7 separate regions of the Homo sapiens genome follow, and all the other regions are linked to region 1. The links are contacts of gene promoters, found by promoter capture Hi-C in blood cells and fetal thymus (Javierre and others, 2016). All regions are on one chromosome and are shown on one strand. The core of a region is centred on a gene start or on the middle of the fragment in contact, and the rest is flanking DNA. Distances in the headings are between cores, read along the strand shown.

Region 1 (3,273 bases), core at 272-2,771:
CAGCTTCCAAGTCTAGCTGCCGACCGCGTAACCACGGCCGACCTGCACTCGTTTCACGCAAGTCCCGATCATGCGGGGCTAAAAAAGAGGTCCCCGACGTGGGTTCGCGGGCCCGAAGCACCCTGGGACTTGTAGTCCCCAACCGGCCAGCCCAGAGACTCCTCTAAAGCCCCACGCAGCCCTCGCCAACGGCTCCAGCGCCGTGCTCGGGCCGAGCCAGGCCGCGGCTGGCTGGGGTCGCCCCTAAGCTGGGGATCTGGGCGAGGACAGAGGCGGCAAGCAAAAGAGGGTCCTACAGAGCAAGCCCAGGCCGAGCGGCGCCGGCCACCGGCCAGATGGCAGCTGATGGCGACGGATGCGCGAGACGCCACTCACCATCATTTTGGAAGCTTATTCAGCGGCCCGCCACTCTCCCCTCTTCTCCGAGACCGGGCCGCCCAGCAACCCACAATGCCTCGCGCAATAGAAATACCCAGAAGCTTGGGCCGGGAGAGGAAGAGAACGGACCACTTCCGCTACTCTATGGTTCGTTACCACCGACTCGGTGCGGCTAGAAGGACCTGAGGCTGGGCTTCGGGGACTCTCTAGTGAGGGGCGTTCATTAAAGAGGGGTCGCCGCATTTCGGTCGTGCTTCTTAGAGCACGGAGGGTCTTTGCTCGGCCCGCATCACCTACTAACTTAATTCCACCCTCCTCCATCCCCGGACGCCAGACCAAGGAATGCAATAAAGGCAAAAGTGTGGGACGCAAAGTGTGGGATAGGCTGGTGCCAAAGCACTTTACGTGAGCGATCTCATTTAATCCTCACAACCCTATTGCGTTGGTCCTATTAAGGCCATTTTACTGATGACAGAAAGGAGGCTGAGAGGTCAAGGTGTCCAGTGTCACAGTTACATAGTCAGTGTCAACGGGACGAGCGTGGGAAGCTGCCCCCAATGCCCGTTTTCTGGCTTTGCACTGGCCAGAGGCTCCTCGTGGATGGCGTGCGCCAGGCCGCGGCCCCAGCGCCTATCCACGGTGAGCGCGCAAGCGTTGGTGGCACTGGGCGGAAGACCCCCTGGCGCAAGACGAGTGCCTTCCCGTGAAGGCGTGGGGAGGAGGGAAGCGCAGCTGGGAGGAGGGAAGCGCAGCTGGGAGAAGGCTAATCGTCGTCAATCGAGGCGGCCTTGGAGTGGACAGGACCGAGACCGCAAGGGTTAACGGCCTCGACTATCGACAGCTGAAGCAAGTCCGGCTACGGGCACACCTCCAGTGCTTGTCCTCCCTGGCCCGCCCACCGCCAGCGAGGACCCGGAGAGTATGCTGGGGCGGGGCTGAGGCGAAGGCCGGTTGTAGCTGTTAAGAGTTTAAGCCAATCAGCCCCCGGCTCCACTTCTCTCGACCAATAGGAAGTAGGCTAAGGCGCAGAGGCGGAAAGTGTGGCTACATGAGCAGGCGTCAGAGCCAATCAGCCTTGAGCCTCGTTCCCGTCGTCCAGCCCGCGGCGAGAGCGGGTATGTGGGCGGGAGGCCGGAGCAGCTGTCAGGCTGAAGTCCTGCGAGCGACGCGCGGCGGGGCGGCGAGAGGAAACGCGGCGCCGGGCCGGGCCCGGCCCTGGAGATGGTCCCCGGCGCCGCGGGCTGGTGTTGTCTCGTGCTCTGGCTCCCCGCGTGCGTCGCGGCCCACGGTGAGCGGCAACGGGTGGGACTGCGTTGCAGGGCGGGGCTGGCCGTCCAGCTTGCGCGCGTCTCGGGTTGGGGGCCAAGGGTCACCTTGGGGACCCTGCGAGTTCAGAGCAGGACAGGTCTGGGAGCGGGCGGCCGGAATAAGTGGGTGGTGGTCCAAGGACATAAAGTGGGCGCAGCCTGAGGCTGAAGCTCTGACTCCTCACCTTCCCACGACAAAGCAGATCTCCCCACTCGCCCCTCCCCGCCCACTAGCGCCGACCCAGGTGACTTAGGGTGCGACCAGAAGGGACAGCTAAGGAAGGATACTACAGGCTGGAGATATGTATGTGAGCATTCACATGTACACAGGAGCACACATTCCTACACGTGGGCACACACGCACAAACCGTTTACACCTACACAAGCACATAAATGTATACATCTATGCACATAAGTGAGCACATACGTATACCCACAACTTACACAAATAAGCACACACAAAGGCAAGCAAGGGTTGGGGAGGAGGGAGTGAGTTTGACGCTAGTCCAGGAAGGCTTTCTGGGGGTGTATTTGTATCCGAGAGGGAGTCCCCACTCCCAGGACTGTATAGCCCAGTGCCAAGCCATGGGAGCTCTAACTGATGGCTGTGATTTGGGCAGTAAACAAAGACAGCTAAAGCCTTAATGCCATCCTTGGTACACAGTAGTGACTTGGTAGTTTGTTGATAGACTAACAGACTTGTGACAGCAGTTTTCTTTTTTTCTTTTTTTTTTTTTTGAGACGGAGTCTTGCTCTGTCGCCCAGGTTGCAGTGCAGTGGCCCGATCTCGGCTCACTGCAAGCTCCGCCTCCCGGGTTCACGCCATTCTCCTGCCTCAGCCTCCCAAGTAGCTGGGACTACAGGCGCCCACCACCACGCCCGGCTAATTTTTTTGTATTTTTAGTAGAGACGGGGGTTTCACCGTGTTAGCCAGGATGGTCTCGATCTCCTGACCTCGTGATCTGCCCGCCTCGGCCTCCCAAAGTGCTGGGATTACAGGCGTGAGCCACCGCGCCCGCCCATGACAGCAGTTTTTATCTTTCAACATTCCGCAGTCTCTCTGGGTTAAGGAAACCAGGGACTCAAGTCCAGGTACAACATTAAACTTTGGTGCTGAGGAGAAGATCCCATGCCCCAGAAAAATCTAGTGGTCTGGAAATTCTCTTCATCGGTGCTGTGGAGCTAGATATAGTTGTTCACCCATTCAGGAAAGTTTATAGGGCTATCCCTATATTGTAGCCACTGTGCAAGACACTGGTGACTCTTCACTGAATGAAGTTACAAAGTGGAAGAGGCAGATATTTAAAAATTATGAATCCAGGGCAGGTGCGGTGGCTCACGCCTGTAATCCCAGGACTTTGGTAAGCCAAGGTGGGAGGATCACAAGCCCTGGCAACAAGGCGAGACCCCATTCCTATTTAAAAAATGAAAAAAAAAAATCAGCCTGGTCAACATGGCGAAACCCTCTCTACTAAAAAATACAAAAAAAAATTAGCCAGGCATGGTGGCGCACGCCTGTAGTCCCAGCTATTTGGGAGGCTGAGGCATGAGAATCGCTTGAGCCTGGGAGGTGGAGGTTGCTGTGAGG
Region 2 (3,273 bases), core at 402-2,901, 1.6 Mb before region 1:
ATCAAAGATAAATCTGCTTTCTGATACTTCTGCCTAATCTCCATTCTGTCACTTGTGATAAGAGTTTCCAAACTTGCTGCACATCAGAATCACATGAGGAGCTTTTAAAGAAAACAGTAAGAATTCCAAGGATCCATTCCAGACTAACCAAATGACACCTCTAAGGCTGGGGCTCAAACACCTTCCCCTCTCCTCTGGGAGGTTTCCAATATGCCAATAACGTGATCGTGGTTGGCCCTGTTCTGATCAACACTGCATATCACTTTTCTGCCTGGAATCTTTGAGAGTCGGTGGTTAAGATATTAGGCCAGGTGTGACCCTGTGAAGTAATCCTGTGTTGATCCAGCCTGCTGGGAGTTGGGAAGACAAACTCTGCATTTGTTTTTAAGAGATGTAAGTTTCTGGATACTATCAAAGCAGACTCATTCAGGTCAACCCTTGATTTGTAGCTGGTGGTGGTGAAAGGAGTGCTCTGGCATCAGAAACACCAGTATGCAAATCCTAGTGGTAGCGTTCGTACAGGTGTGCGACATTAGAGGACTCTTCATCTGAACCCCAGCTTCCTTGCCACAAAACAGGATGAATAGCCCCACATGACAGAGTCATTAGCATAACTGTGGGGACAAAAGAGTTCTCTATCACCCCCCCTTTCCTTCCACCCCTTCTTTCTTCTAAAGCTTCTCTCCACCCAGGGTCACCTTCAGGCAATCACAGACATTTCTCAACCCTCCTTAGTCACAAAGCAGAGGCTGTTTCCCCAAACTATTCCTTCTCTTTCTGTGATGGGCATGGACAAGGCTGCTTCTCTTTAAATCTCTATCTGGGAGAGGAGGAAAGGAGGAGGGGGCATTCCAGGCTGGGGAATCGGAGGCAGGCCAGAGCAAAGCCTGGCTGAAGAACGGGTTACCTTCCCGTCTGCCTGCCAAGCTGCCAGCCCAGGAAGCGAGGGCGTGTTAGACAGAGATAGCACTGTTAGTTGATATTTCTTCAGCAAGGGTTAGATCAGAGCTTCCTCATTGGGTAATTTTGGTCAGTTTCAGTTTTTCCCATAACATACCAGTCTGACATGCCCACTTCCTCTACAGAATTGGGGTTGGTGTCAGGGGAAGCCCTAAAGACAAATTAACCCCATACTCTCTAGGAAATAAGATAATACCCAAAATGGGAAGCCATTAACACCCATCCCCTTAAGTACCTGCATTTTCCTCCAGACCAGCACTTAAAAAAGGAGAGGAAATTGTGTCACTGTCACAAAGCAACAAATGGAGAGAACAAAAGGGGACATTCATGGAGGCTCCACTTCGAAGTATGCAGTGTGCAGGGTGGGCCATACACAGTCCTGGCCAGGTATGGGGAAGCCCAGGAAGGAAAGGCCTGGAGGTGACTGCAAGAAAGGGATCTCAGAGAAACCAGGCCCATCGGGGAGCAGCCTCGACCCAGGTCACACAGTTGAAACTAGAATCTGGATCACCTGGATGAATGTCAACCCTTCTGGCCCAGAAGCGCCCATCTCATTCTGCAGGCCCAATGCAACTGAAAGACTGGTGCCACTGCCTGGATCCTGAGCCCACCCCATCTGGTCCCTGTGGGAACCTGGCCTTGATCAAATTATTTACATCCAGAAGACAGCAATATTCCAATTTTGACAGTTTTTATATGAAGTACTACAGATCCTACCTTGAGTAAGGTACTCAAGGGTTTTAAAAGGGAAGTGTAGACGAAACGAAACCTTAAATTTCAATGTCTAAGTCTGTAAGATCCGTATCATTCAATCCCTGAATCCTGACTACTGTTGCAACCCCAGCATCTTCCATGTTATGGCATTTATGGAACAGCTATTAAATACAAAGCACTAGTGTACAGAAACATAATTTTACAAGAAATTAATTCTGGAAATGAATAGTGGTGGTAGTTGCACAGCAATGTGAATAACACACTTAATGCCACTAAATTGTACACTTAAAATGGTTAAAATGGTAAATTTTGTGATTAATATTTTATTACAATTCTTAAAAATTTTAAGAAATCAACAGCCCTGCTCTCTAGGACTTTATATCAAAGAAGCTGGCTCATATTATAGATCAATGAGTGTCTCTAGAATGCGTGGAGAGATGAGTCTTGTCTAATAAGAATGTCGGGCACAATACAAGGCAGCCCATGGGAAGTGTCACAGATTTAAGTGGCCTGAGAGACTGGCAATCAAAGGGGATACTTTTGGAGCTCAGCCACCTTAGCAGATAAATGCTTACCTAGAGACAGCAGTGTGAAAAGGCTCAGGAGGCATGGGCAAGCCCCTAAGACCCTGGGAAATTACCAATTCCAGGAACAGAAAGCTCCTCACCTTCACAACATTACATTAGCTCCCCATGAAATGCTTCATAGGTTTAGTTCTATCACTTTTAATCAAGGGCTCACAGGAAAGACTATAAAGACCACTGCACCAGGTAAAGCTGCTGTGTCTTTCACTAATGCTTCCCTAGCCATTCAGTCCCCAGTAAGGGTTAGTGTCAGGAGAAAGTCTGGCTGCCCAGACACACTGTGCTACCTGTTATAGGCCGATGGGATGAAAACGACTGACTCAAAGAGAACTAACTATCCTTTTTGCCTTGACTGTCAGGAAGCTTGGAGCTTCGTCAAGTTTGTTTAACTTTAGAGACAGAGTCTTGCTCGGCTGCCCAGGCTGGAGTGCAATGACGCAATCATGGTTCACTGCAGCCTCAAACTCCTAGGCTGCAGCCTTAAACTCCTGGGCTCATGATCCTTCCACTGCAGCCTCCCAAGTAGCTAAGACTATAGGTATGCACCCTCGTACCCAGCTGATTTTTTTAATTTTATTTTTTCTGTAGAGACAGAGTCTCACTGCGTTGTCCAGACTGGTCTCAAACTCCTGGCCTTAAGCAATCCTTCCATCTTGGCCTCCCAAAGTGCTGGGATTACAAGCATGAGCCACCACACCTGGCCTGTCAAGTTTTTCAGTAATCATCTCGCCAGTTTGATGACTCTCGTTCTAGAAATCTTTTTACTGAAAGCTGAACCAAATCACTAAATCCTTTTAGTAAGCAAGCAGAAAATACATAATACATGAATAAGCAAATGTTCATCACTTGTGTCTGCAGGGCACACCCTCCTGGTAGAGGGCTGAATTCAAGTGATCACATAGGATAAGAAAGTTACTCCACAAGCATAGAAGCATCAAAGCAAAGGATGCAGGATGCCTGTGGCACAGCTGAACTTTGTCTCCCCAGTCTTGGGATATTTCTAATTGATTATCTA
Region 3 (3,273 bases), core at 353-2,852, 1.4 Mb before region 1:
TAGGTAGGAGCAATGGGTGGTATGGTTTGGAGTGAGGCTAGTGCTCAAGTTTGAATGCGTCCCCCAAAGTTCATTTGCTGGAAACTTAGTACCCAATGGAATAGTGTTCAGAGGTGGGGCCTAACAAGAGGTGATTAGGCCATAAGGGCTCTGCCCCCATAAATGAATTAATGTCATTATCTTGGAAATGAGTTAGTTATTGAGAGAGTGGGTTTGTTGTAAAAGTGAGTTCAGCTCCCTATTGCTGTCTTGCTCTTTTGTACCCCTTGCCCTTCTGCCTTCTGCCATGGGATGACACAGAAAAAATGCCCTCACTAGATGTGGGATTCTCAACCTTGGAATTCCTACCCTCCAGAATTTAAGAATACATTTCCTTTATTTACAAGTTAGTTGTTCTGTGGTATTCTGGTATAGCAACACAAAGGGGAGTAAGACAGGTAATGCTGGGGTTGAGCCTAGTAAGGTAGGTGGGGTCAGTTATAATGGACCCTCTAACCGAAAAGGAAACATAAGCCATTTTTAAGACAAAGAATGATATGATCAAAATATTTTTACAAGGACAATTCTAACATCAGTGGAAACGATAATCTGGAGATTAGAGACAGAAAGGCTAATTTGGACTATATGGGGGGAAAGAGCTGTTGAGAAGCTACCCTTTAAACTGAAACACAGGAACTCTATTGAATATCAGATTATAGTGTTTAAAAAAGGACATAGGTTAAATAGTTCTGTTCTTACCTGAGGAACAGTTGATAGGAGCAAAATGGTTTAGTGGGACTAGAATACAAGCAGGCAACTCTTTTCCTGTTGAAACATCTAACCTATCCTGTGCCACTCATTGAAATATTGCCCCACCCCACCTCCAACCTGCATCTAGACAATGAACTGAGAAAATAACAATAATAATAATAAAGAAAACAAGGAAAACTGCTTGTACATTTCTAGCTTGGAACTAGCATTATCTTTCCCTCTCCTGTGGACTAATTCAGAGAATTCCTTTTTAACCAGAGTTGAAGACCCAGACCAACCAACTGTTAAGGACCAGGACGCTCCTACCCCATCTGGAGTTCGTCAAAGGGACTATGGGAATCAACCTCAAGTAAGCGAGAATGAGTATGAAGAGAGCGACAGACCCTCTTGGAATACAGGAGTTTGAAAAGACTTAAAAGAACTTTGTGAAGGCAGCTATAACTTCCATGAGGGCAGTGACCATTGTCTGTACATCCACTGTACTCCAATCCTAGCACAATGCGTGGCACATAACGTGCCCACCACAGATGTTTAGTGAACAAAATAGCGACTGGCTGAAGGAAATGATGTGGAAGGGAAAAGTTAAAACCAAGAAAACGGTCGGTGGGGGAGCTACTGGCATGTTTCATGGGAAGGGGTAGAAAAAGAAAAATGTCAGGTTTAGCACAGCATTTCCAACAAATAGACAAAATTCTACCTAAGGGACAAAGAAGGACTGTTCTCAGGGTATCTAGGGACTTGGAGACCGTTTTCCTGAAGCGCCACCTGAAGCGCACCCTGAGGCAGCCAGGCCCCGCCTTGCCCGCAGTGAGCCTCCCGCCCAGCCGCGCCGGCCTGAGGGGGGCGCCTCCGAACGCGCGGGCGCACGCTGAGAGCCGGGAGGACCAGGTGAGGGGGCCTCCGTCTTCCGAAGACAGGTACGGTTCTCCACGCCTCGGGGAGGGAGGGCAGCCCGAGAGCAGCCGGCACCACTTCGCAGGCTGGGCTGGGCGTGGGCCGAGCTCGGGCCAGTCCTCAGGCAGGTGTTGGTTGCGCTGGCCGTGGCGGGTGCCGGCGCAAGACTGACGCCGAGAGAGGCTCCGAAATCGCTGTCGGAGTCATCCCTCCGCATACTGTTCTGGGCGGCCAGGCCTGCGCGGAGTCTGGGCCCGGAGCTTCCTCCGCGGGGCCCCCAGGCCCGAGGGCCGGGCTGCTGATCCGCCAGGCACGGTAGGCGCCATGCCGAGGGACCACGGAGGCTTCAGGGAGCCACGAGAATTTTTTTTCTTCTGGTTTTGCTTTGTTTTTGAGACGGAGTTTCACCCTTGTTGCCCAAGCTGGAGTGCAATGGCGTGATCTCGGCTCACTGCAACCTCCGCCTCCCGGGTTCAAGTGATTCTCCGCCTCAGCTTCTCGAGTAAGCTGGAATTACAGGCTCCCGCCACCACGCCTGGCTAATTTTTTTATATTTTTAGTAGAGACATGGTTTCCCTATGTTGGCCAGGCTGCTCTCGAACTCCTGACCTCGTGATCCGCCCGCCTCGGCCTCCTAAAGTGCTGCGATTACAGGCGTGAGCCACCGTGCCCGGCCACGAGAATGTTTTCATTTCGTTTAAAGTGAACCCATGAAGTCAAAGAAAGTGTTTTGATTTTTTTCTCACATCAGGAGGGGGAAATGAGATTTTTAGGGCCTACAAAATCCATTAACTTCTTTTAATCTTTTTTTAATGGAGGAAGGGGTCCACGAAGACGAAAGTGCCTTAGGGCCCACGAAATCTTTAATAGGGCCCTGCCAGAGGGAGAACCATTGAATCGTTTATCACGCGACAAAGTGAATGAGGGCTTGTAAAGGGGCCCTAACCTAGAATGCTCAGCACGGAACAGAACATCCGCAGAGGCAGACACAGCGAGAAGCCGATCTGTGAGAGGTGGATCTCCCGGGGTGCGGGCAGGGGAGGGCCTAGTGTGAGGATGGAGAGTTGGGCAGAAGGCACAAGCAGAACTTTAGGGCCAGGGTAAAGATATTGGATTCTGTTTCCAGTGGTGTAATTGGAAGTCCTTGGAGGGTTTTTAGTTTGGGCATAACTTGGTGGTTTGGAGTGGTTCAAGGCCCAGTTCCAGTTTTAACCAGTTTGCAGGGAGAATTCATTAAGCGAGTGTTCTTGGCAAAAGTGGAGAGTATAGGGTCAGAATAAGGTCAGAGCCTGTTTAGTACTATGCCCAGACACATCAGATGCATGAATTGATGATGTTTGAGGATGTAAGGAAGAGAGCTGCCTCTTACCTCATTTAAAATACAGTCTTCCAATTGCACATTAGTGTGGGATTGAAAAATGACTGCAAGCTGAAACCATTCAAAGAGATCTTAAACACCAATGGGAAAAATTACAGTTGTTCTATAACCTTGAAAAATTGTCAAAACACTAAAACTTTCTTACTAACTGTATAGGGAAATGTAAAACAGTAAAACTATTTCATACACTAACTTAAAACATTAGAAACATTGAGAGCTAAAGTGTTTTATTTGTTGAAAAAAAACTCTCA
Region 4 (3,273 bases), core at 428-2,927, 1.3 Mb before region 1:
GTCCCTGCTTAGGAGGAGAGGGAGGAAAGCTTGAGATCTTGACACTTCCAGTCTTCCAATTCTCCCTAGCTGGTGGCCAAGGAATTGGGCCAGACAGGGACACGGCTCACTCCAGCTGACAAAGCAGAGCACATGAAGCGACAAAGACACCCCAGATTGCGCCCCCAGTCAGGTATGTGGTCTCTATACATTACAGCTTTTGGGGTTTTTTTTTTTCGGCCTACTGTGATTCCTCCCCTATTTCTGTGCTAGTTAGCCTCTCCTTCTAGTTCTCTACTTACCAGAATTTCTTTTTTCTTTTTTTCCTTTTTCCACAGCCCAGTCTTCTTTCCCTCCCTCCCCTGGTCCTTCTCCTGATGTGCAACTGGCAACTCTGGCTCAGAGAGTCAAGGAAGTTTTGCCCCATGTGCCATTGGGTGTCATCCAGAGAGACCTGGGTATGGGAAAGGGTGGCCCCACACTGGGAGATGGGCACAGGGAGGAAAAGTGGGTTGTGAAGGAAGAAAGTAAGTAGGGAGTGGACTCCCTTCTCTTTTCTCCCCAGCCAAGACTGGCTGTGTAGACTTGACTATCACTAATCTGCTTGAGGGGGCCGTAGCTTTCATGCCTGAAGACATCACCAAGGGAACTCAGTCCCTACCCACAGCCTCTGCCTCCAAGGTGAGACCCAGGAAATGGTCAGATCCAAGTGTTGGGGTGAGTTGGGGGCAGGCTATGTACTCCCTTATCCCTGACCTTTCTTTTTTGATCCTGAGACCCTAGCATAGTGCCTCTCTTGCAAAGTAGGCATTCGATGCGTGTTTAATGATGATGACTCCGCAAGCCCTCTGACATTGTGATCACCTCAGTTTCCCAGCTCTGGCCCGGTGACCCCTCAGCCAACAGCCCTAACATTTGCCAAGTCTTCCTGGGCCCGGCAGGAGAGCCTGCAGGAGCGCAAGCAAGCACTATATGAATACGCAAGAAGGTGAGGGGGTTAGAGGACAATTAATAGGATGTGGCAAATTGGAGAATGGAATTATGGAGCTACTACGGCAAAGCCTGAATAATATCTCTCCCTATGTCCCACAGGAGATTCACAGAGAGACGAGCCCAGGAGGCTGACTGAGCTCAAAGGAACAGGATGGCACCCAGAGCCGCAGGACGGAGACTGGGGGCAGCCCTCACCCAACTCACAACAGGCTGGATGGGTGGGTGGTAAAAAGGGAAGGATGAGGCTCCCCCAATGTCACATTAAATTCATGGTTTTCATTCAAGGCATCTGTTGTCTCTCTCGGTCTCAAAAGCCCTGTGAGTGGGTTCCTTATTCCTTGGCTGCGGGGGATGGGGGTGAGAGTCTTCTCGTACATTTGAAGGGGGTAGTCAGACTGCAACTGTCTAAAATCACCTCCTCATGCCAAGTGATGAGTGATAAATTAAGGAAGTGTAACTGAACTGAAGACCCAGCTTGGGTGATCAGCCCAGGTTTTGGAGGAAGCTGCTGCAAAACTACAAGTCCCAGCATGCCTTTCACAAGCACACTACACATCATCTATAGAGTTCACACATGCTCAGTGTGGTAGCTGGAGCCTGTTTTCCATAGGTTCCTGACTAGGTTAAATAAGGTGGAGCAAATAGCCCCACCCCAAAAGCAGGCTTCAGGATTTGAAGTTTGAGCCCATCCCTGAGGTAGAGCCGGAATTTACCTTTGTACTTCACACGGTCAGGGTTGGTGGTGACTACGTGGGTCTGGAGCTGACTGCCGTCCTGACACGTCCTAGAGCTGCAAGCAGGTTTGAATCCAGGATCCCTGTGACTCTGCTGTTCCTCTCCCCACCCCCTATATTCTTTATCCTTTTCCCTTCAGGACTTTCCCACAGGTTACTAGGTCTCACATAATTTCTACTGCCCTTGAGGACCCCTGCCTAAGTAAGATTTCTACTACCTGCCAACGGGGTAATAGTCTCAGGTAGATTTCTACTACCTGACTATAGGGACTGTCGACTAACTCTCAGTAGCCCTTTATCAAAATACCTAGCACTGTTTCCTGGCAGGAAATGCTGGGAAGGGTGGGCCCCAGAGCATGATCAACTGAAGGTAGAGGTTAAGGATCAGGGCTGAGGTGGGAAGATGGTGTCGGTCACCAAATATGACCTTACTGGCTGCTCTGCCTTCTGCAGGTCCTGCCAGAGAGCCACCATGACCTCTCAGCCTCTCAGGCTAGCAGAAGAGTATGGCCCAAGTCCTGGGGAGTCTGAACTGGCTGTGAACCCCTTTGATGGGCTTCCCTTCTCTTCCCGCTACTATGAGCTGCTGAAGCAGCGCCAAGCCTTGCCCATCTGGGCTGCTCGCTTTACCTTCTTGGAGCAGTTGGAGAGTAACCCCACTGGAGTGGTGCTGGTGTCTGGGGAGCCTGGTTCTGGCAAGAGCACCCAGGTGTGGTGGGGGTTGTGGGGGCAGGCAGATTCTGGGAGTGGACAAAGGGAGGACAAAGGGAGGACAAAGGGAAAGTGGCCTTTCCCTGGGCAAGGGGGGACTGGGCTGCGTGGGGTCATGAGGAAGGTGAACGAAGAGAGATGGGATGGGTTAGGTTGGCCCTGGAGGCTGGTGAAAGACCAGGGGACTCCCCAAATAAGGAAAGATTAAAGTGGCCATAGTTCCCTGAGCACTTCTGACTGAAGTCCTACATCTTCCTCACTGGCTCTCCTTCCCTACTTCTATCCCAGATCCCTCAGTGGTGTGCAGAGTTTGCGCTGGCCAGAGGGTTCCAGAAAGGACAGGTTACTGTTACTCAGCCCTACCCTCTTGCAGCCCGGAGCCTGGCTCTGCGGGTTGCTGATGAGATGGACCTGACCCTGGGTCATGAGGTTGGATACAGCATCCCCCAGGAGGACTGCACGGGGCCCAACACCCTGCTCAGGTGGGGGCCTCTGCAGGCCTTACCCGAATATAATTCCCCTTATTCAGTAGAAACAAACCCATTCCTCTGGCATCTCACCATACCCTCCCTTAGCCCAACTCACTCTTTTTTATTTTATTTATTTTGGAGAAAGGGTCTCACTCTGTCACCCAGGCTGGAGTGCAGTGGTGCAATCACAACTCACTGCAGCCTCAACCTCCCGGGCTCAAGTGATCCTCCCACCTCAGCCTCCCAAGTAACTGGGAATACAGGCGCGCACCTCCACGCCTGGCTAATTTTTATATTTTTTGCCATGTTGCCCAGGCTGGTCTCAAACTCCTGGGCTCAAGTGATCCACCCACCTCGGTCTCCCAAAGTGTAAGGACTACAGGCAT
Region 5 (3,273 bases), core at 236-2,735, 1.3 Mb before region 1:
ACTGCAAATATTTGAAGTGTACAATTTGATAAGTTTTGACATATGTATATACCCATGATACCATCATCACCATAAAAATAATAAACATATCCACATCTCAAAAATTGTCCTTTGTCCTTTGTGTTTCATGTTTTATCAGAATCACTAGCTCTGAGAAACAGCACTCAACTGTGATGTTGAGAACAGGCGAAGGGGGACTCAAGGAAAACAGTCAAGAGGCCACTACAGAGGACAGATGATAGTGGCTCGGACCAGGGAAGTAGGTAAACAGGGGCTGTAACGAATAATTGATTAATCACTAATCTCATAACTTCTTGCTGCATATTCACTTCAATTCACTCTGAAGAGAAATGAACAAAAATGTCGCTTTCACAGGATAACCTCCCTTCAAAAAAGTCCGCTAGCTCCCAATTGCCCTCAGGCTAAAAATCGCAACTCTTTATGGCCCTGCTTTTTCTATTACCACTCTCAAATCTACATCTTGACCTTCCTGTCCTCTGGTCATTCCCCTCCACGTCCTTTCTATTTCACCACACTTCCACCCCCTCCCCCAAGTCTAAATTGTGCCCAAAGTCCCACTTTCTCCAGAAAGCCTTTTTTGAGGTCTCCATTGGAATCTCTCCCTTCTCGTATCTCCAGTTGCATTTGATGTTAATACCTCATAGCAAATTTATCCCTTTTTAAGTACCCAGAGCCGGCGGTGTAGAGCTCTCGAGCGAGCACCCCGCGTAGTCCCCAAGTGCGGGACTGGGCCTATGCTACTACAGGCGCTCGCTGCCTAAGCCTGTCTGTGTGTGGCAGTGTCCTAGTCGTCCTCCCCTCCTCCTTCGGCATCTGCTCTGCATTAGTCTGTCCCAGGCCTCCGCAGGCGCCGATGATTAAATCATCATCATTAACCAGGGCCTGCCCCCCCCATCCCCGGCAGCAGGGGGGAGAATGGGGGAATAAGATCACTACCAAGTCCCTGGGGGTCTCTCACTCCCCATCCCCCGGCACCCTCTCCGAGACTCTGCAAAGCCCAAGAAACTCCCTCCGTGAAGCCGGGAGAAGACCCGCCATCTGGACGAAGCTCCGCTACGCGGACGCCGACAGGGCGGCATTACGAGGAGAGGACCCAGGAGGGGCTTCTTCAGCAGGGTCGTCGTCACAGAAGACCGACGACCCTGAGCGGGTAGCGGGCACAGACTGCCAGGCCTTTGGGGGTAGGAGGGGGCAGTCTTTCGCAGGCTCCGAAAGTTAGTCTTGAGGTCGCGTAGGGCCTATTATGATGATTTCTACAGGAGGTTGAAGAGATAAGACCCTTCCCTGTGCTCCCCCCCCCCCACTCCTTAATTACGGATTGAGCAGGGGAGGGGCCGGTGGGGCTCAGGTGAGCACACAGGGAGAAAGGGACGTGGGCGGGGCCTTACAGAGGGTGAGCGAATCCGAAAAGACCTAGAACCTCGTTGCTGGGAGACAAGTCCCGCCCTGCAGGCGGCACCGGAAGTGGCCGGCTGGGATCAGCCTTTAAGATGGCGTCTCCTCAGGGGGGCCAGATTGCGATCGCGATGAGGCTTCGGAACCAGCTCCAGTCAGTGTACAAGATGGACCCGCTACGGAACGAGGTGCAAGGGCGGCAGGGTTACTGCTGTGGTCGGCCAGCGGTGCGAATTGGGGCGGGCTAAAGGACGGGCGGTGGCTGGCCGGGCGCCCAGTGCGCCTGCGCAGAGACAGAGTGCCCAGTGCGCCTGCGTGGTTGCGATCGGGTTGCCAAACTCCGGTTAGGACGCCTGCGCGTTGTGTCGCCGACGTTGTGTAGTCTCCCCTGGGAAAGGAGGGTCAGGCGAGTCCACGTGAGGGAAGCCCCCGCTGTGCGCGGAGCCCTCTGCTGGGCGGAGGGGGAGTGCCAGCCCCCAGGAGCTAATCCCCGGCTGATGGCGCAGGGCGCGGGGCTTGGCCGTCTAGTGTGATGAAGGAGGCGACCCCCAAGGTGGGAAGGCGCACGGGTTGGGGTTTGAGGGTGGATGATTGGTGACGGAGGGTGTATCTTCAGGAGGAGGTTCGAGTGAAGATCAAAGACTTGAATGAACACATTGTTTGCTGCCTATGCGCCGGCTACTTCGTGGATGCCACCACCATCACAGAGTGTCTTCATACTTGTGAGTGCCTTGGAGACTGCCTAGTTCTTCCAGTCCCTAGTCTTCACCAAGCTGACTGCCAGCTTCTGTGCGGCCTGCCTCACGCATCCAGGCACCCCACCCAGCCCATGAATCCAGTTTCCAGAGGGCCTGAGAATCTGCTTTTCTTTTCCTGCAGTCTGCAAGAGTTGTATTGTGAAGTACCTCCAAACTAGCAAGTACTGCCCCATGTGCAACATTAAGATCCACGAGACACAGCCACTGCTCAACCTCAAACTGGACCGGGTCATGCAGGACATCGTGTATAAGCTGGTGCCTGGCTTGCAAGACAGTGAGTCACCAACCTGACTTTGAGGGGCCTCTTGAGGACTAATTGCTGAGTGGCAGCTTGAGGTGACGGGTTTGGTAGGACTCACGTAGGCAGAAGGCCAAAGATGAGGGAAGGACAAAAAGTGAGGAAGGGCTAATACTTTATTCTTTTTTTTCTTTTTTTGAGACGGAGTCTTGCCCAGGCTGGAGTGCAGTGGCGCAATCTCAGCTCACTGCAAGCTCCACCTCCTGGATTCATGCCATTCTCCTGCCTCAGCCTCCTGAGTAGCTGGGACTACAGGCGCCCACCACCATGCCCAGCTAATTTTTTATATTTTTTAGTAGAGACGGGGTTTCACCATGTTAGCCAGGATGGCCTCAATCTCCTGACTTCATGATCTGCCCACCTCTGCCTCCCAAAGTGCTGGGATTACAGGCGTGAGCCACCGCGCCCGGCCCCGAAGGGCTAATACTTTATTCTCATACTTCACCTTCTTCTAGGTGAAGAGAAACGGATTCGGGAATTCTACCAGTCCCGAGGTTTGGACCGGGTCACCCAGCCCACTGGGGAAGGTATGTCCTTGGCCGCGGGACAGTAAAGACCCCAGAGCATTCTTCTTGCCCAGTTTTGCTCTCTGGGGAAAGAGGAGTATGGAATGTGTGCCACCAGCCACCTCACTACCCTATCTTTCTCAGAGCCAGCACTGAGCAACCTCGGCCTCCCCTTCAGCAGCTTTGACCACTCTAAAGCCCACTACTATCGCTATGATGAGCAGTTGAACCTGTGCCTGGAGCGGCTGAGGTGAGGAGAAGGTCAGGGGTTGCAGGAGGTGACAGTGCCAATGAC
Region 6 (3,273 bases), core at 561-3,060, 1.2 Mb before region 1:
CCTCAATGCTTCCAAATCTGATCCTGTCCCTCCTTCGAAAACCCTGCTGTCTACCGGGCATGGTGGCTCACACCTGCAATCCCAGCACTCTGGGAGGCCAAGGCGGGCGGATCACGAGGTCAAGAGATCGAGACCATGCTGGCCAACATGGTGAAACCCAGTCTCTACTAAAAATACAAAAATTAGCTGGGACTGGTGGCATGTGCCTGTAGTCCCAGCTACTCAGGAGGCTGAGGCAGAAGAATTGCTTGAACCAGAGAGGCGGAGGTTGCAGTGAGCCAAGATCACACCACTGCACTCCAGCCTGGGCGACAGAGTGAGACTCCATCTTAAAAAAAAACAAAAAACAAAAAAACTCTGTTGCCTACTTGAGAACATCCAAACCCCTGTGCTAAGTCAAAGCCTTTCAAGCCATCTGCTGCCTTCTCTCCCACCCCATCTTTTACTGTTCCAACCAGATTCTCTACTCTGGTCTCACTTTGGTAAAGTTCTCTCAACTTTTCCTTGTTTTACTGTCTTTGCTCACACTGTCCCCTCCATCTATAAAAAGATATTTTTTCATTTTTTTTTTGAAATGGAGTCTCCCTCTGTTGCCCAGGCTGGAGTGCAGTGGTGTGATCTTGGCTCACTGCAACCTCTGCCTCCCGGGTTCAAGCGATTCTCCTGCCTCAGTAACCCCAGTGACTGGGATTACAGGCGCACACCACCACGCCCAGCTAGTTTTTCGTATTTTTGGTAGAGATGGCGTTTCACCATGTTGGCCAGGCTGGTCTCGAACTCCCGACCTCAAGTGATCCGCCCCCCTAGGCCTCCCAAAGTGCTGAGATTACAGGTGTGAGCCACTGGGCCCAGCTTTTTTTTTTTTTTAGACAGAGTCTCACCGTTCCCCAGGCTGGAGTGCAGTGGCACGATCATGGTTCACTGAAACCTTGACCTCCCGCGCTCAAGAGATCCCCCACCCACCACGCGGGCTAAATTTTTTAAAAACATTTTTGTAGAGATGGGGTCTCACTATGTTGCCCAGGCTGGTCTCTAACTCCTGGGCTCAAGCAATCCTCCCGTCTCAGCCTCCCAAAGTGTTGAGATTACAGGCACAAGCCACCGCGCCCGGCCTCCATCTTTTCCCAAGGAACTCGTACCCACTCCCTAATCCTCAACTCAGAGACCCTTGTCTGCTCAATTCTACCCACTTCGAGCATCTGTTACATCAGGATCATCCTCCTGATCCCCTGCCCCTCACTTGCCTAAGATCCTCAAGGGCATGGCCGGAGACTACAACTCCCCAAAGCCTCCAGAGCCCCGTCTGGCGCCCATCCGTCGCGGGTTTCTGCACAGCTGACTTCAAAGAGGCGTGACCAAAATGAGCAGGACTGGGGGAAACTGAGGGTCGCTTTTACCTCTTCGCCGTAATCCTCTGGACCGAATTCCTTGCAAAGTTTGGGTGCAGCAGCGACCTCCAGTGGGCAGCTGGGCCGTAGAGAGCAGTCTACAGGAAAGGAAGGCGGAGCCTCGTCAGCGGGCTCGGGACAGATGGGCTAGAGTCCTCCCCACTCTACCCTCGACTCTCCGCCCTCTGCATAAAATCCTACTCGAAACGTTCAGACCACAGGTGGACCCAAGAGGGGCTGCCTCTGCCCTCCTAGACCCCCACTGGTCTTGTCATACCGCTCACCTAGCTTGATCCGCCCCACAGTCTTTGGAATCGGCGCCATCGCATCTACAGTGACCCGGAAATGAAAGGTAGTCTAGTATTTGATACCAGCCAAAGGGCGGGGTGGGACAGAGTGGGCGGCCATGTTTGTTAGGGGCAGAAGCCTCCCATTACGGAGCACGAGAGAGTCCATGAAGGTCCCCGCGACTCCCGGACTGGAGAAAACGGCTCTTGCGATGGGGCGAAGTCCGAGCTGCGGCGGGCGTTGGTCCGTGCAGGGAAGTGGGAATCGTTAGGTTCGTTCTGGACCCGCCGCCCCATGGCCCAGGCGTCTCGCTCAGGTAGCCTGCCTCCACTCGTTATCGTGCCCCCGCTGAGGGCGCAACCCGGGGGCACTGGGGAGGAGCAGTGGGAGAGAAGTCGAACGGGCGGTCTTCGCTGGGAGGTTCACTGCTGGCCGAGCGGAACTTCTGGAGGGACGCCGTGGTGGCCGACGCCGGCGGATGTGAGCGAGGACTACGAGGCTGATGCTGCGGCCTGGAGGCGGGGGCCCGCAGGTGGCGGCCCGATCCCTCCCGCGCTGCAGCGTCTCCGGGCGGTGTTGCTGCGGCTGCATCGCGAGCGGGAGCAGCTCCTCCAGGCCCGAGACTGCGCCTACCACCTACAGTCGGCTGTGCGACTCATGAAGACCCTGAGTCCTGGCTCGCCATCCGGCGGCCCTAGCCCCTTGCCCCAGTGGTGCCGCGACCTGCAGCTGCACCCTTCCCAAGGGGCGGTTCTGCGAATCGGCCCTGGGGAGACTCTCGAGCCGCTGCTGCTAGCGCGCCCCATCGGACTAGCCGCCCAGTGCCTGGAGGCTGTCATCGAGATGCAGCTTCGCGCTCTCGGCCGGGAGCCCGCCAGCCCGGGCCTGTCGTCCCAACTCGCCGAGCTGCTCTTTGCACTTCCCGCCTACCACACACTACAGAGAAAAGCCTTGAGCCACGTCCCAGGGGCCGCACGTCCTTTCCCCACGTCCCGTGTGCTCCGCCTCTTGACGGGGGAGCGGGGTTGCCAGGTGGCAAGTCGGCTGGACGAGGCGCTCCAAGGATCGGCGTTGAGGGACCAGCTCCGCAGGCGGTGCCAAGAGGAGGGGGATCTGCTACCAGGGCTGCTGGGCCTGGTCGGGGGCGTGGCGGGTTCAGCCAGCTGTGGACTAGGGCTCGGAGGGGCTGGGGCCTTGTGGAGCCAATACTGGACCCTGCTGTGGGCAGCCTGTGCTCAGAGTCTGGACCTAAATCTGGGACCCTGGAGGGACCCCAGGGCAACAGCGCAACAGCTGAGTCAGGCACTGGGTCAGGGTGAGTGATGGGCTTGGGTGGGCGTTTGGGAAGGCTGGGGTCTCTTCCTTCCCCTTGGCCAACTCACTGACCTGCCATCCTGAAGGCAAAAGCAGGCCCTTTAGAAAGAACACCCCTGGGTTCAGACTATAGCTTCTGAGCTTTCAAGGCAAAGTCTTGCTTTCCACCCCAGTCCCGAGTCTTGGAGGAAGCATGCCTTCTTGCCTCATCATTGAGTGGGCAGGGGTTGTGGAAAGTGAGACCTTGTTTTCAGGCCCCAGAGTCATTTCTCCCACTAGCATC
Region 7 (3,273 bases), core at 566-3,065, 1.2 Mb before region 1:
TTATTCTTTTTTTTTTTTTTTTTTTTTTTTGAGACAAGAGTTTCGCTCTTGTTGCCCAGGCTGGAGTGCAATGGCACAATCTTGGCTCACTGCAATCTCTGCCTCCCGGGTTCAAGTGATTCTCCTGCCTCAGTGTCACGAGTAGCTGGGATTACAGGCATGCACCACCATGCCCAGATAATTTTGTATTTTTTAGTAGAGACGGGGTTTCTCCATGTCGGTCAGGCTGGTCTCGAACTCCCAGCCTCAGGTGATCCGCCCGCCTTTGCCTCCCAAAGTGCTGGGACTACAGGCTTGAGCCACTGCGCCTGCCCTAAGAGGCCTTATTCTAAAGTCAAAAGAACAACCTGGATTTGAGTTCCCCAGCTCCATAATTAACTGGCTGTTATTTTGGGTCAGTCTTAACTACTCTCCTCATCTGTAAAAATGGGGGTGGTCTGGCCAGGCGCGGTGGCTCACGCCTGTAATCCCAGCACTTTGGGAGGCCGAGGTGGGTGGATCACCTGAGGTCAGGAGTTCGAGACCAGCCTGGCAAACCTGGTGAAACTCCATCTCTACTAAAAATACAAAAATTAGCTGGGCGTGGTGGTGGGCACCTGTAATCCCAGCTACTCGTGAGGCTGAGGCAGGAGAATCACTTGAACCCTGGAGGCAGAGGTTGCAGTGAGCCGAGATCATGCCATTGCACTCCAGCCTGGTGACAGAGCGAGACTCCGTCTCAAAAAAAAAAAAAAAAAAAAAATGGGTATGGTTCAACATGCATTGAGTGCTGGCATTGTGCTTCTAGACTGTGAACTTGAGGTTGGGGCCATTTTCTCTGAGTCCCCAGCACCTTGCATAATGCGATATAGGGTGTACAATAAACATGTGTTGAATTTATAAATATTTAGCATCTGCCTTATGCCTATAATTGATTAGTACTGTGATACAAAGATGAAAAATGAAACAGGTATGTAATAAGTGCTACAATAAGGATGTCGACAAATGCAACGGTAGCAAGAAAGACAAAAACAGGACTAACCATTGGGTTTGGTCAGATGATTTCATAAGCAAAAAGTCTACCACTAGTGGAGAGTGGGGCCACCAGTCAGATTATAGTGAAATATAAGTGGTCGTGTTGCATAAAGCATCAGTCTCTCTCTCTCTCTCTCTCTCTCCCTCCGTCCCTCCCTCCCTCCCTCCATCTCTCTCTCTCTCTCTCTTTCTTTTTTTTTGAAACAGTTTCACTCTTGTTGCCCAAGCTGGAGTGCAATGGCGCAATATCGGCTCACTGCAACCTCCGCCTCCCAGGTTCAAGCAATTCTCCTGCCTCAGCCTCCCGAATAGCTGGGATTACAGGCACCCACCACCACACCCGGCTAATTTTTGTATTTTTAGTAGAGATGGGGTTTCACCAAGTTGACCAGGCTGGTCTCCAACTCCTCATGTCTGGTGATCCACCTGCCTCGGCCTCCCAAAGTGCTGGGATTACAGATGTGCGCCTCGGTGCCTGGCCACATCAGTCTTTTTTTTTTTTTTTTGAGACGAAGTCTCGCTCTGTCGCCCAGGCTGGAGTGCAGTGGCACAATCTCGGCTCACTGCAACCTCCGCCTCCCGGGTTCAAACGATTCTCATGCCTCAGCCCAACGTTAGATTGGTTTTTCCGAGCCTGTGAACTCCATGGGGTCGCCAGATAAACGCAATCCCGGTGGACCAACGCCCAGGACAGACGCTACGTACCAACCCTGTGTCAAGCCGCAGGCAGCGGTTCCGGACTCTGGGACTTAACCTAACGTGGCGGGGCGGGACTTCCGGCGGGAGGCGGAGGCGGAGGCGCAGGCGCTGGCTGGCAGGTGTCGCTAACCGGACGGTGGTCGCCAGGGCGAGAGGCGGGAGCCGGAGAGGTGAGGCAGGACCCGGGCTCCACTGCCGCCTCTCCGAGCTCTTGTGACGCGGACCTCAGTGCCAGGATGGCTCGGGGCGAGCGGCGGCGCCGCGCAGTGCCGGCAGAGGGAGTGCGGACAGCCGAGAGGGCGGCTCGGGGAGGCCCCGGGCGACGGGACGGCCGGGGCGGCGGGCCGCGTAGCACGGCTGGAGGAGTGGCTCTGGCCGTCGTGGTCCTGTCTTTGGCCCTGGGTATGTCGGGGCGCTGGGTGCTGGCGTGGTACCGTGCGCGGCGGGCGGTCACGCTGCACTCCGCGCCTCCTGTGTTGCCTGCCGACTCCTCCAGCCCCGCCGTGGCCCCGGACCTCTTCTGGGGAACCTACCGCCCTCACGTCTACTTCGGCATGAAGACCCGCAGCCCGAAGCCCCTCCTCACCGGTAACCGGGCCCCAGGGCGGGCAGGCAGGCGGACTCCTAATCTGGGCGCCCCAGCTTGAAGCGAGAGCAAGGGTGGGAAGGAATGGATCAGGAGAGTTATGAAGAGGGATGACCCGGAGACCCGGAGGGACAGGTCCCCTGCTCTTTGACTTACGTGGCCATTCTACCCCCAGGACTGATGTGGGCGCAGCAGGGCACCACCCCGGGGACTCCTAAGCTCAGGCACACGTGTGAGCAGGGGGACGGTGTGGGTCCCTATGGCTGGGAGTTCCACGACGGCCTCTCCTTCGGGCGCCAACACATCCAGGATGGGGCCTTAAGGCTCACCACTGAGTTCGTCAAGAGGCCTGGGGGTCAGCACGGAGGGGACTGGAGCTGGAGAGTGACTGTAGAGCCTCAGGTCAGGGCCTCAGGACACCCTTTTCTCAGCCCAGACCCCCTCCATCCTTCCCTTGCTGCCAGCAAATGCAGCATGAAGTGGGCTCTGGCTGCCTGGCTTAAATCCTGCCTTAAACAACTGCCTGTATAACCATTTCTATTTACCATCTCTAAGCCTTGATTTCCTTGCTTGTAAAATGTACAATGTAGATAATAATAGCACTTAACTCACAGGACTGTAAGAATTAAATGAAAAAGAGGCTGGGCGCGGTGGCTCACGCCTGTAATCCCAGTACTTTGGGAGGCCGAGGCTGGCGGATCACCTGAGGTCAGGAGTTCCAGACCAGCCTGACCAAAATGGAGAAACACCGTCTCTACTGAAAATATAAAATTAGCCGGGCGTGGTGGCGCATGCCTGTGATCCAAGCTACTTGGGAGGCTGAGGCAGGAGAATTGCTTGAACCAGGGAGGTGGAGGTTGCGCTGAGCCGAGATCGTGCCATTGCACTCCAGCCTGGGCAACAAGAGCAAAACTCCATCTCAAGAAAAAAAAAAAAGCCAGGCGCGGTGGCTCACGCCTGTAATCCCAGCACTT

The links. Contacts are between HindIII fragments. The CHiCAGO score rates a contact against its expected background, and 5 or more counts as called.
Region 2: a contact is called between a fragment that was not itself captured here and the fragment with the promoter of PRADC1 in region 1, in 2 of 17 cell types (total CD4 T cells and naive CD4 T cells). The highest score is 6.8, in total CD4 T cells.
Region 3: the fragment with the promoter of M1AP here is called in contact with the fragment with the promoter of PRADC1 in region 1 in 3 of 17 cell types (naive B cells, non-activated CD4 T cells and neutrophils); the score reaches 7.2 in naive B cells.
Region 4: the fragment with the promoter of DQX1 here is called in contact with the fragment with the promoter of PRADC1 in region 1 in 5 of 17 cell types (activated CD4 T cells, fetal thymus, non-activated CD4 T cells and 2 more); the score reaches 9.5 in activated CD4 T cells.
Region 5: the fragment with the promoter of PCGF1 here is called in contact with the fragment with the promoter of PRADC1 in region 1 in 3 of 17 cell types (fetal thymus, total CD8 T cells and monocytes); the score reaches 8.0 in fetal thymus.
Region 6: the fragment with the promoter of CCDC142 here is called in contact with the fragment with the promoter of PRADC1 in region 1 in 5 of 17 cell types (neutrophils, non-activated CD4 T cells, fetal thymus and 2 more); the score reaches 10.9 in neutrophils.
Region 7: a contact is called between the fragment with the promoter of MOGS here and the fragment with the promoter of PRADC1 in region 1, in 10 of 17 cell types (naive CD8 T cells, non-activated CD4 T cells, fetal thymus and 7 more). The highest score is 17.8, in naive CD8 T cells.

What each region holds. Positions count from the first base shown.
Region 1 is chr2:73,231,487-73,234,759 of GRCh38, reverse strand. It overlaps PRADC1 (protease associated domain containing 1), which reads left to right and starts at 1,521. Exons shown (of 5, transcript NM_032319.3): 1 at 1,521-1,666. The coding sequence starts at 1,600. It overlaps CCT7 (chaperonin containing TCP1 subunit 7), which reads right to left and starts at 452. Exons shown (of 12, transcript NM_006429.4): 1 at 376-452. The coding sequence starts at 381. RefSeq lists enhancers at 565-634, 755-804, 446-977 and a silencer at 1,265-1,474. The HindIII fragment of the contact is 3,259 bases long and covers 482-3,273 here.
Region 2 is chr2:74,847,084-74,850,356 of GRCh38, reverse strand. All of the region lies in intron 1 of HK2 (hexokinase 2), which reads right to left. Among named protein-coding and RNA genes, the nearest start is that of HK2, 15 kb to the right of the region's middle. RefSeq lists an enhancer at 262-401. The HindIII fragment of the contact is 1,944 bases long and covers 680-2,623 here.
Region 3 is chr2:74,646,659-74,649,931 of GRCh38, reverse strand. It overlaps M1AP (meiosis 1 associated protein), which reads left to right and starts at 1,602. Exons shown (of 11, transcript NM_001321739.2): 1 at 1,602-1,667. The HindIII fragment of the contact is 10,572 bases long and covers 1-3,273 here.
Region 4 is chr2:74,524,635-74,527,907 of GRCh38, reverse strand. It overlaps DQX1 (DEAQ-box RNA dependent ATPase 1), which reads left to right and starts at 1,677. Exons shown (of 12, transcript NM_133637.3): 1 at 1,677-1,772; 2 at 2,160-2,415; 3 at 2,706-2,899. The coding sequence starts at 2,179. It overlaps AUP1 (AUP1 lipid droplet regulating VLDL assembly factor), which reads left to right. Exons shown (of 12, transcript NM_181575.5): 8 at 70-172; 9 at 318-437; 10 at 545-660; 11 at 849-967; 12 at 1,072-1,256. The coding sequence ends at 1,108. RefSeq lists an enhancer at 1,410-1,579. The HindIII fragment of the contact is 10,114 bases long and covers 32-3,273 here.
Region 5 is chr2:74,505,907-74,509,179 of GRCh38, reverse strand. It overlaps PCGF1 (polycomb group ring finger 1), which reads left to right and starts at 1,485. Exons shown (of 9, transcript NM_032673.3): 1 at 1,485-1,604; 2 at 2,033-2,138; 3 at 2,296-2,448; 4 at 2,928-2,999; 5 at 3,123-3,228. The coding sequence starts at 1,512. RefSeq lists enhancers at 676-735, 1,476-1,655, 1,292-2,222. The HindIII fragment of the contact is 5,812 bases long and covers 1-3,273 here.
Region 6 is chr2:74,481,535-74,484,807 of GRCh38, reverse strand. It overlaps CCDC142 (coiled-coil domain containing 142), which reads left to right and starts at 1,810. Exons shown (of 9, transcript NM_001365575.2): 1 at 1,810-2,991; 2 at 3,270-3,273. The coding sequence starts at 1,971. TTC31 (tetratricopeptide repeat domain 31) reads right to left here and starts at 1,727. Exons shown (of 13, transcript NM_022492.6): 1 at 1,673-1,727; 2 at 1,398-1,486. The coding sequence starts at 1,712. RefSeq lists enhancers at 1,298-1,407, 1,728-2,267, 2,378-2,497, 2,568-2,667. The HindIII fragment of the contact is 7,623 bases long and covers 1-3,273 here.
Region 7 is chr2:74,463,924-74,467,196 of GRCh38, reverse strand. MOGS (mannosyl-oligosaccharide glucosidase) reads left to right here and starts at 1,815. Exons shown (of 4, transcript NM_006302.3): 1 at 1,815-2,301; 2 at 2,475-2,701. The coding sequence starts at 1,950. RefSeq lists a silencer at 2,029-2,248. The HindIII fragment of the contact is 14,256 bases long and covers 1-3,273 here.